3 separate regions of the Homo sapiens genome follow, and regions 2 and 3 are each linked to region 1. The links are contacts of gene promoters, found by promoter capture Hi-C in blood cells and fetal thymus (Javierre and others, 2016). All regions are on one chromosome and are shown on one strand. Each heading gives the region's core, a stretch centred on a gene start or on the middle of the fragment in contact. The rest is flanking DNA. Distances are from core to core; before and after follow the strand shown. Region 1 holds the start of DEFB116 (defensin beta 116). Region 2 has its middle 5.2 kb from the start of LINC00028. Region 3 has its middle 4.7 kb from the start of HM13.

Region 1 (2,700 bases), core at 111-2,610:
ATCCACTCCCTTGGTAATTTTTGAAATATCCAACACAGTACCGTTAACTATAGGAACTGTGTTGTACAGTAGATTTCTAGGACATATTCATGACAGTATAGTCTCTTCAATAAATGTATTGGGAAAACTAGGTATCTAGATGCAAAATAATAAAATTGGATATTTATCTTACACCATACACAAAAACAAATTCAAAATGGATTAAAGACTTAAATCTAAGACCTGAAACTATAAAACTCCTAGGAGAAAACATAGAGAAAAAGCTTCTTGACGTTGGCCTTGGGAAGGATTTTCTGGATATGACACCAAAGCACAGGCAACAAAAGCAAAAATAAACAAGGGGATTGCAGCAATCTAGAAAGTTTCTGCACAGCAAAGGAAACAGTCTACAAAATGAAGAAACAACCTATGGAATGGGAGAAAATATTTGCAAATCATATATCTGAGAAGGAGTCAATATTCTCCTTATTTCAATAGCCACAACCCTGCTGTGATGAATTCAACTGTCTTACTCAAGCTTAATCACCCCCAAACCCAGGCTAAGTCAATCCCTGCCCAGATAAACCTCACATACCCATGACTGAATAAGATACCCACTTTAGGCAAACACTAACTACAACTCAAGCCCTACCTCTTCTAATAACCACCAAAAGCCCAACTGCAAAACATACAAACATAACACTATCCAAGCCACCCAACCCCATTCACAGCATCAATCTAAAACACAACCCAGCTACAAACCTCTCTATACCCCAACTCCCAGTTGCACCAACTCTACCCCAGCTCCATTCAAGAAAAAATACCATTTCCTCTCTAGAATGCACCAAAACATCTATTCAGCCCAACCTATAAATACAATTATTCACCCCATGCTCATCCCCACTCACTTTTTGGATATTACCCTATCTCTAAGGTCTTACAACCTCCCCACCTCAACTCCCTACCCAACTCCAAACTGCTATACCCCTCCTATAGCTCCTCAACTTGCACACAGTCTCTCACACCTAACTCATGAATTAAGCCCCCATCCCAATGACAGCACTACCTAAAATGTTCCATGCTTAGACTGTCCACTATGCCAGGATCAACAACCTCTTCAATTTGTCTTGGCAGAGCAGAACCAGGGGAGATCTTTACATGAAATTAACCTTGGGAATAACATCTGTGACCCACCTGAGACCAGAAAAGGCTTTAGGTGTTGCCCACTATATGTGAGTAGGAGTCACTGCAGAGGTCACCAAGATACCAGTACCACATGCAAGACGCCAGAACCTTTGAGAGAGGCCTGAGTTACCTGGAGTCTTTTGAGCCAGGATCATAAGGATGGCAATGGTCATTAAACAGGGCTTCATGACTGACATGTTCCACCAGAATGAAGGGCTGTGTTGCAGGTGACCAAACAGAGATCACTGTAGCAGAGCAGTAGCCCGCCTTTATTAGTTTTGGAAATGCGTCAGGGTTCTGTGCAGTGAACTAAAAGGGATGGGAGATACCTGATGTCAGGCAGGAAGAAGGACAACATGTATCACTTATCTGAGCTGGATACTCTGTGTAAGCGTGGGAGACTTGCCAGCAGTGCTCATGTCTGTGTGGGCCTTTCTTCCCATTAAGAAATAAAGACAAATTAGAGCCAGTTGGCATTTTGTGTGAAACGAATTTGAATGAATGAATCAACCAAGCAAGCAAGCAAACTTGAAAAAACTTATAAACAATTAGATAAGAAATAAGCACGTGTATACCTATGTGAGGCACGTGTATACCTATGTAACAAACCTGCACGTTCTGCACATGTACCCCAGCACTTAAAGTATAATTGTAAAAAAAGAAATAAATAATTATTTTTAACTGTAGTCACCATGCTGTGCCCACAGAACACCAGAACTTATTCCTCCTATCTAACCGAAAGTTTGTACCCATTGACCAATGTCTCCCCTTTCCCCATCCACCCTCCCTCGAGGCTCTGGTAACAACCATGCTAATCTCTACGTCTATGAGTTCAATTTTTTTAGATTCCACATCTAAGTGAGATCATATGGTATGTGTCTCTCTGTGCCTGCTTTATTTCACTTCACATAGTGTCTTCTAGGTTCATTCATATGATTGCAAATAACAGAATTTTCTGTTTTTTAAAGGCTGAATAGTACTCCAGTATCTATAGTTAATAATAATGTAAAGAGCTAAAAGAAAGATTTTTAAATGACCTCATCACAAATAAATAATAAATATTTGAGGTGATGGACATGCTGATCTCTCAATTAATTGATCCCTTTATTATTATATAATGACCTTCTTTGTCTCACTTTGTGGTTTTTTACCTAAAGTCTATTTTTTCTGTTGTAAGAAAAGCTGTTCCTGCTCTTTTCTGGTTTCTTTTTCCATGGAACATCTTTTTCCATCACTTAACTTTCAGCCTATGTGTTTCCTTAAAACTGAAATGAGTCTCTTGTAAGCAAAATACAGTTGAGTCATTTAAAAAAATCAATTCAGCCACTCCTTCAATTGGCAAACTGAATCCATTTACATTCAAAGTAAGTATTGATAGGTAAGGATTTACTTTTGCCATTTTGTTCATTCTTTTCTGGTTATTTTATACATCCTTTGTTCCTTTCTTCCTCTTTTGCTATCTTCCTTTGTGATTAGATTATTTTCTATATTAGAATGCTTTGATTCCTTTCTTCTTATCCTTTGTGTATCTACTGT
Region 2 (2,700 bases), core at 98-2,597, 180 kb after region 1:
GAGGTTGCAGTGAGCCGAGATCATGCCCCTGCACTCCAGCCTGGGCGACAGACCAAGACTCTGTCTCAAAAACAAAAAAAAAAATAGTATTTCTCACTAAGGGTCGATGTGAGAATTCAATCAGGTTGGCTATTTGTTAGCATGATGCTTTGCACTCAGTAAGCACTCAATAAATTGTAATGCATTTCCATGCATTACTTTATACTTTTTCCCACAGATATATTTTGCTAAGGCAAAGTATTGGATGCTTTTAAACATCATACTATATGTATCCTTCAGCTTTATTATTTTTCACATTCAACATTATATTTATGAGATTCCTTGTGTTGAAATCTGTAACTATTCTTTTTCATCACTGCACAGTATTCCACTGTATGAACATATAAGATTTATTTATCTTTTCTTCCTCTTGATGGGCTTTTTTTCTGCTATAAATAATGCACTATGAACATTGCATGTGCCTCTTTGAGCACAAATATGAGAGTTCCTCTTTCCATCTTTCCACTCTGCCATCTTCTGGGTCTCAGCTTGCCCTGGGATAGCTACCCTTAGGGTCCCAATATGGCCACCCCAGTTTCAGGCATGAAACGTGGACATGACAAGGTCCAGGCAAAGCAAAAAGGTTGTCTCTTCCTCAGCATGTCCCTTTCATCAGCAAGGAAACTCTTCCAGTTCTCACTGGCCAGAATCTGGTTACATGGCCACCTTCAAACTAATCAGTGGCTTAGGTTAATCAGGGTTTGCATAAAGTACAACATGACCACACCAAGAAGAAAAGCTAGAGCTGGGTTAACACCCCAAGTGCTCTAGTCAGGCAGTCAAGGGTGCATGCTCTTAGCTTTTCCAGTCTTACAAAACAGTCCAGAGTGAGTGTGACCATTCCAAATCCAGTCCACTTCAGGGTCTACCCAACTCTGTGAATGAGGATAGATGCCTTTTCACAGAATTGTCTGGAATGAAACTTTGGGAGGCCAAAGTGGGCAGATCACCTCAGGTCAGGAGTTCAAGACCTGCCTGGCCAACATGGTGAAATCCTGTCTCTACTAAAAATACAAAAAAAAAAAAAAATAGCGAGACACGGTGGTGCGGGCCTGTAATCCTAGCTACTTGGGAGGCTGAGGCAGGAGAATCCCTTGAACCAAGGAAGCGGAGGTTGCAATAAGCCAAGATTGCACCACTGCACTCCAGCCTGAGCAACAGAGCAAGACAATGTTTCCAAAAAAAAAAAGATTGTCTGGAAAGCAATTTTTGAGTCTTACATACACACATACACATGCACACACATTAATTCCAAAACTGAAACCAGGATTCACTAACTCAAATGCTCACAGAGTCAGACCAATAATATAAGTCAGTGAAGTCAACTGGGTAGAGGACATTAGGCAGCATCAAGTCTATGGCAAACTGGAATCAGCTGCCTTGCCTAAAAGGAGGATACGAACTAAGCTGCCTGTGACTACTGTTGGAATATGAACCCAGTGTTGCCAGATACCGCATGTCAGTTTTTCTAAGAAAGGCAGAGAGCCAGATCTTTATGTGAAGTATCCCAATCCTTTTGTTTTGAGGCAGGGTCTCACTCTATTGCCCCAGGCTAGAGTGCAGTGGTGCGATCACAGCTCACTGCAGCCTCAACCTCCCAGGCTCAGGGGATCCTCCTGCCTCAGCCTCCAAGTAGCTGGGCCACAGGCATGCACCACCAGGCATAGCTAATTTTTTTTTTCTTTTTTTGTACAGTCAGGGTCTCTCTATGTTGCTCGGGCTGGCTTCAAACTCCTGGACTCAAATGATCCTCCCGTCTTGGCTTCCCAAAGTGCTGGGATTACAAGTGTGAGCCACTTCACCCAGCCCTAATTCTTTTTTATTTTTTTTTTTTGAGATGGAGATTCGCTCTTGTTGCCCAGGCTGGAGTGCAATGGTGCGATCTCAGCTTACAGCAACCTCCACCTCCCAGGTTCAAGCGATTTTCCTACCTCAGCCTCCCGAGTAGCTGGAACTACAAGCATGCACCACCACACCCAGCTAATTTTTTGTATTTTTATTAGAGATGGGGTTTCTCCATGTTGATCAGGCTGGTCTCGAACTCCCGACCTCAGGTGATCTGCTCACCTCGGCCTCCCAAAGTGCTGGGATTACAGGCATGAGCCACCGCGCCTGGCCACCCAGCCCTAATTCTTAAATAATTATTGCTGATTGTCATTTTGTGTTTTTTTGTTTGTTTGTTTTTTGAGATGGAGTCTCACTCTGTCACCCAGGCTGGAGTACAGTGGCGCGATCTTGGCTCACTGCAACCTCTGCCCCCCGGATTCAAGAGATTCTCCTGCCTCAGCCTCCCGAGTAGCTGAGATTACAGACACCTGCCACCGTGCCCGGCTATTTTTTTTTTTTTTTTGAGACTGTGTCTCACTCTGTTGCCCAGGCTGTAGTGCAGTGGCGTGATCTCGACTCACTGCAAGCTCTGCCTCCCGGGTTCACACCATTCTCCTGTCTCAGCCTCCCAAGCAGCTGGGACTACAGGCACCCGCCACCACGCCCGGCTATTTTTTTTTTTTTTTGTATTTTTAGTAGAGACGGGGTTTCACCGTGTTAGCCAGGATGGTCTCAATCTCCTGACCTCGTGATCCACCCGCCTCAGCCTCCCAAAGTGCTGGGATTACAGGCATGAGCCACCACGCCTGGCCTAATTGTGATTTTTTTTTTAAA
Region 3 (2,700 bases), core at 24-2,523, 200 kb after region 1:
TGTTTTAAATTGTTGTTATTTGGAGGTTTTCTGTTGCATGCAACCAGCCAAACCTAATCATAACTGACATGTTGTTCTGGTTATCTATTGCTGCATAAAGAGGAACTCCCAAAAGAACTATTTTGTCAAACTTACTGATTCTGGGGATCAGGAGTTTTGACAGGACTTTGTGGGCATGGCTTGACTCTGCTCCATGCTCTCTGGAGCCCCAGCTGGGAAGACTTGATGGTTTAGTGTGACTCAAGCAGCTGGGGACTGGGATCATCTGGAGGACTCTTCACTCACATGTCTGGCACCTGGACTGAGATAACAAAAAGACTGGACTCAGCTGGCATTGCTGACTGAAGCATCTACACATGGCTTCTCCATGTGACTTGGGCTTCCTTACAACATGGCAGTCTCTGGGCAGTCAGACTTGTTAAAAGTGGCTCAGAGGTCCTTGAGCAATTGTTCCACTGAACAAGGTGGAAGCTGTTTGGCTTCTTCCTTATTTCCTTTTTCTTTAATTTCCTCTAAAATATTTTATCTTCTTGTTTGGCCTCTTCTGACCTCGCTTCAGAAGTCATGCAGCATCAACCTTGTCTGCAGCTGCCCTGAGCCAGCAGTTCTCTACACACCCAGCATCAGCATCAAGTGAGATGCACCCAGCACGGTTGGAGCAGGCATGGGCAGAGCAATGGTAGCCAGGCTCCAGCAGGGGCTGCAACTTCTGGCACTGCTCCTACGGATGCAGATTTATACAGCTCAAACAACTGCTCTAACTTTTAAGTAACTTCTTCCAGAATAACGGCTGCCCCCAAGTCTAGCGAATGCCACCAATAAGGCATTGACAGTGTCCTGCAGTCAACAGCCAGTCTCCCCCCTCACTCCTCAGGGTCTCACTCTCTTCCTCTTCTCTGCTGTTAAAAGACTCAGGCCAGGCCAGGCATGGTGGCTCACGCCTGTAATCCCAGCACTCTGGGAGGCCGCGGCAGGTGGATCCCCTGAGGTCAGGAGTTCAAGACCAGCCTCAACAACATGGAGAAACCCTGTCTCTACTAAAAATACAAAACTAGCCAGGCATGGTGGCGCATGCCTGTATTCCCAGCTACTGGGGAGGCTGAGGCAGGAGAATCACTTGAACCAGGGAGTCGGAGGTTGCAGTGAGCCGAGATTGTGCCACTGCACTCCAGCCTGGCAACAGAGCTAGACTCCATCTCAAAACAAAAAAAAAAAAAAAAAAAAGTGAAACTATCTCAAAAAAAAGACTCAGGCCAAGACAGGTCTACACTTTCCCATCTTCTAAATTCAATTCAAAGGTCATCTAGAAGGCCAGTATGGCAAGGAAAAAACAAGTCTTCATCAAATCTAGTAGATCTAGATAAAATAAGATACAGGCCAGGCGTGGTGGCTCACACCTGTAATCCCAGCACTTTGGGAGGCCGAGGCGGGTGGATCATGAGGTCAGGAGATCAAGACCATCCTGGCTAACACGGTGAAACCCCGTCTCTACTAAAAATACAAAAAAAAAAAAAAATTAGCCGGGCACGGTGGCGGGTGCCTGTAGTCCCAGCTACTTGGGAGGCTGAGGCAGGAGAATGGCATGAACCCGGGAGGCGGAACTTGCAGTGAGCTGAGATCATGCCACTGCACTCCAGCCTGGGCGAAAGAACGAGACTCCATCTCAAAATAAAATATAAGATCCACATCTTGGTTGGGCGTGGTGGCTCACGCCTGTAATCCCAGCACTTTGGAAGGCCGAGACGGGCAGATCACGAGGTCAGGAGTTTGAGACCAGCCTGACCAACATGGTGAAACCCCATCTCTACTAAAAACACAAAAATTAGCCGGGCGTGATGGCGGGTGCCTGTTGTCCCAGCTACTCAGGAGGCTGAGGCAGGAAAATTGCTTGAGCCCGGGACACAGAGGTTGCAGTGAGCCAAGATCACACTACTGCACTCCAGCCTGGGTGACAGAACAAAACGCCATCTCAAAAAAAAAGATAAGATCCACATCTAATTTTATTGACACAGAAAATGTCAAGAACCCCAAATTTGGTTGGTTTGAAGAACATGTGAAGGGTTTGACTAGATGATGAATGTCAATATTAAATCAGCTGAAGTTTCATATACAAAATGAAGAGGAACAGCATTCAAACTTAGTTAAGACACAATTTCCTTGAGTGGCCAGGCATGGTAGTCATGCCTGTAATCCCAGCACTTTGGGAGGCCAAGGTGAGCAGATCGCTTGAGCCCAGGAATTCAAGACCAGCCTGGGCAACATGGTGAAACCCCATCTCTATAAAAAATGGAAAAATTAGCTGGGCATGGTGGTATATGCCTATAGTCCCAGCTACTCGGGAGGCTGAAGTGGGAGGGTCGCTTGAGCCCAGGAGGTCAAGGCTGCAGTGAGCTGTGATCATGCCATTGTGTTCCAGCCTGGGTGACAGAGTGAAAATGTGCCTTGAAATAAAATTTTCCTTTGAATACGGCTTAAGAAATATGGCCACTTAAAACTCTACCTTGAAAATAAATATAGATTTTATCTTATCTAGAGGTAGAGTGGGAAGTTTTCATTTGGTACATTAAATCTATAAGGCCATAAACAGGTAATATAAAAAGCTTTCATAATTCAATTTATATATAACATGAGAAGGAACTTCCAGGTGTTACTATGAATCTTCTATGTATAGTTACAGTCAATATACTTTATATAAGAGAT

What was found. The method cuts DNA at HindIII sites, captures the fragments that hold promoters and counts their contacts. A CHiCAGO score of 5 or more calls a contact.
Region 2: a contact is called between a fragment that was not itself captured here and the fragment with the promoter of DEFB116 in region 1, in 1 of 17 cell types (M2 macrophages). The highest score is 5.5, in M2 macrophages.
Region 3: a fragment that was not itself captured here is called in contact with the fragment with the promoter of DEFB116 in region 1 in 1 of 17 cell types (erythroblasts); the score reaches 5.2 in erythroblasts.

Annotation. Positions count from the first base shown.
Region 1 is chr20:31,307,225-31,309,924 of GRCh38, forward strand. It overlaps DEFB116 (defensin beta 116), which reads right to left and starts at 1,361. Exons shown (of 2, transcript NM_001037731.1): 1 at 1,295-1,361. The coding sequence starts at 1,361. The HindIII fragment of the contact is 2,687 bases long and covers 516-2,700 here.
Region 2 is chr20:31,489,615-31,492,314 of GRCh38, forward strand. No RefSeq gene overlaps it. Among named protein-coding and RNA genes, the nearest start is that of LINC00028, 5.2 kb to the left of the region's middle. The HindIII fragment of the contact is 4,898 bases long and covers 1-2,700 here.
Region 3 is chr20:31,508,388-31,511,087 of GRCh38, forward strand. It overlaps the pseudogene CD24P3. Among named protein-coding and RNA genes, the nearest start is that of HM13, 4.7 kb to the right of the region's middle. The HindIII fragment of the contact is 2,650 bases long and covers 1-2,598 here.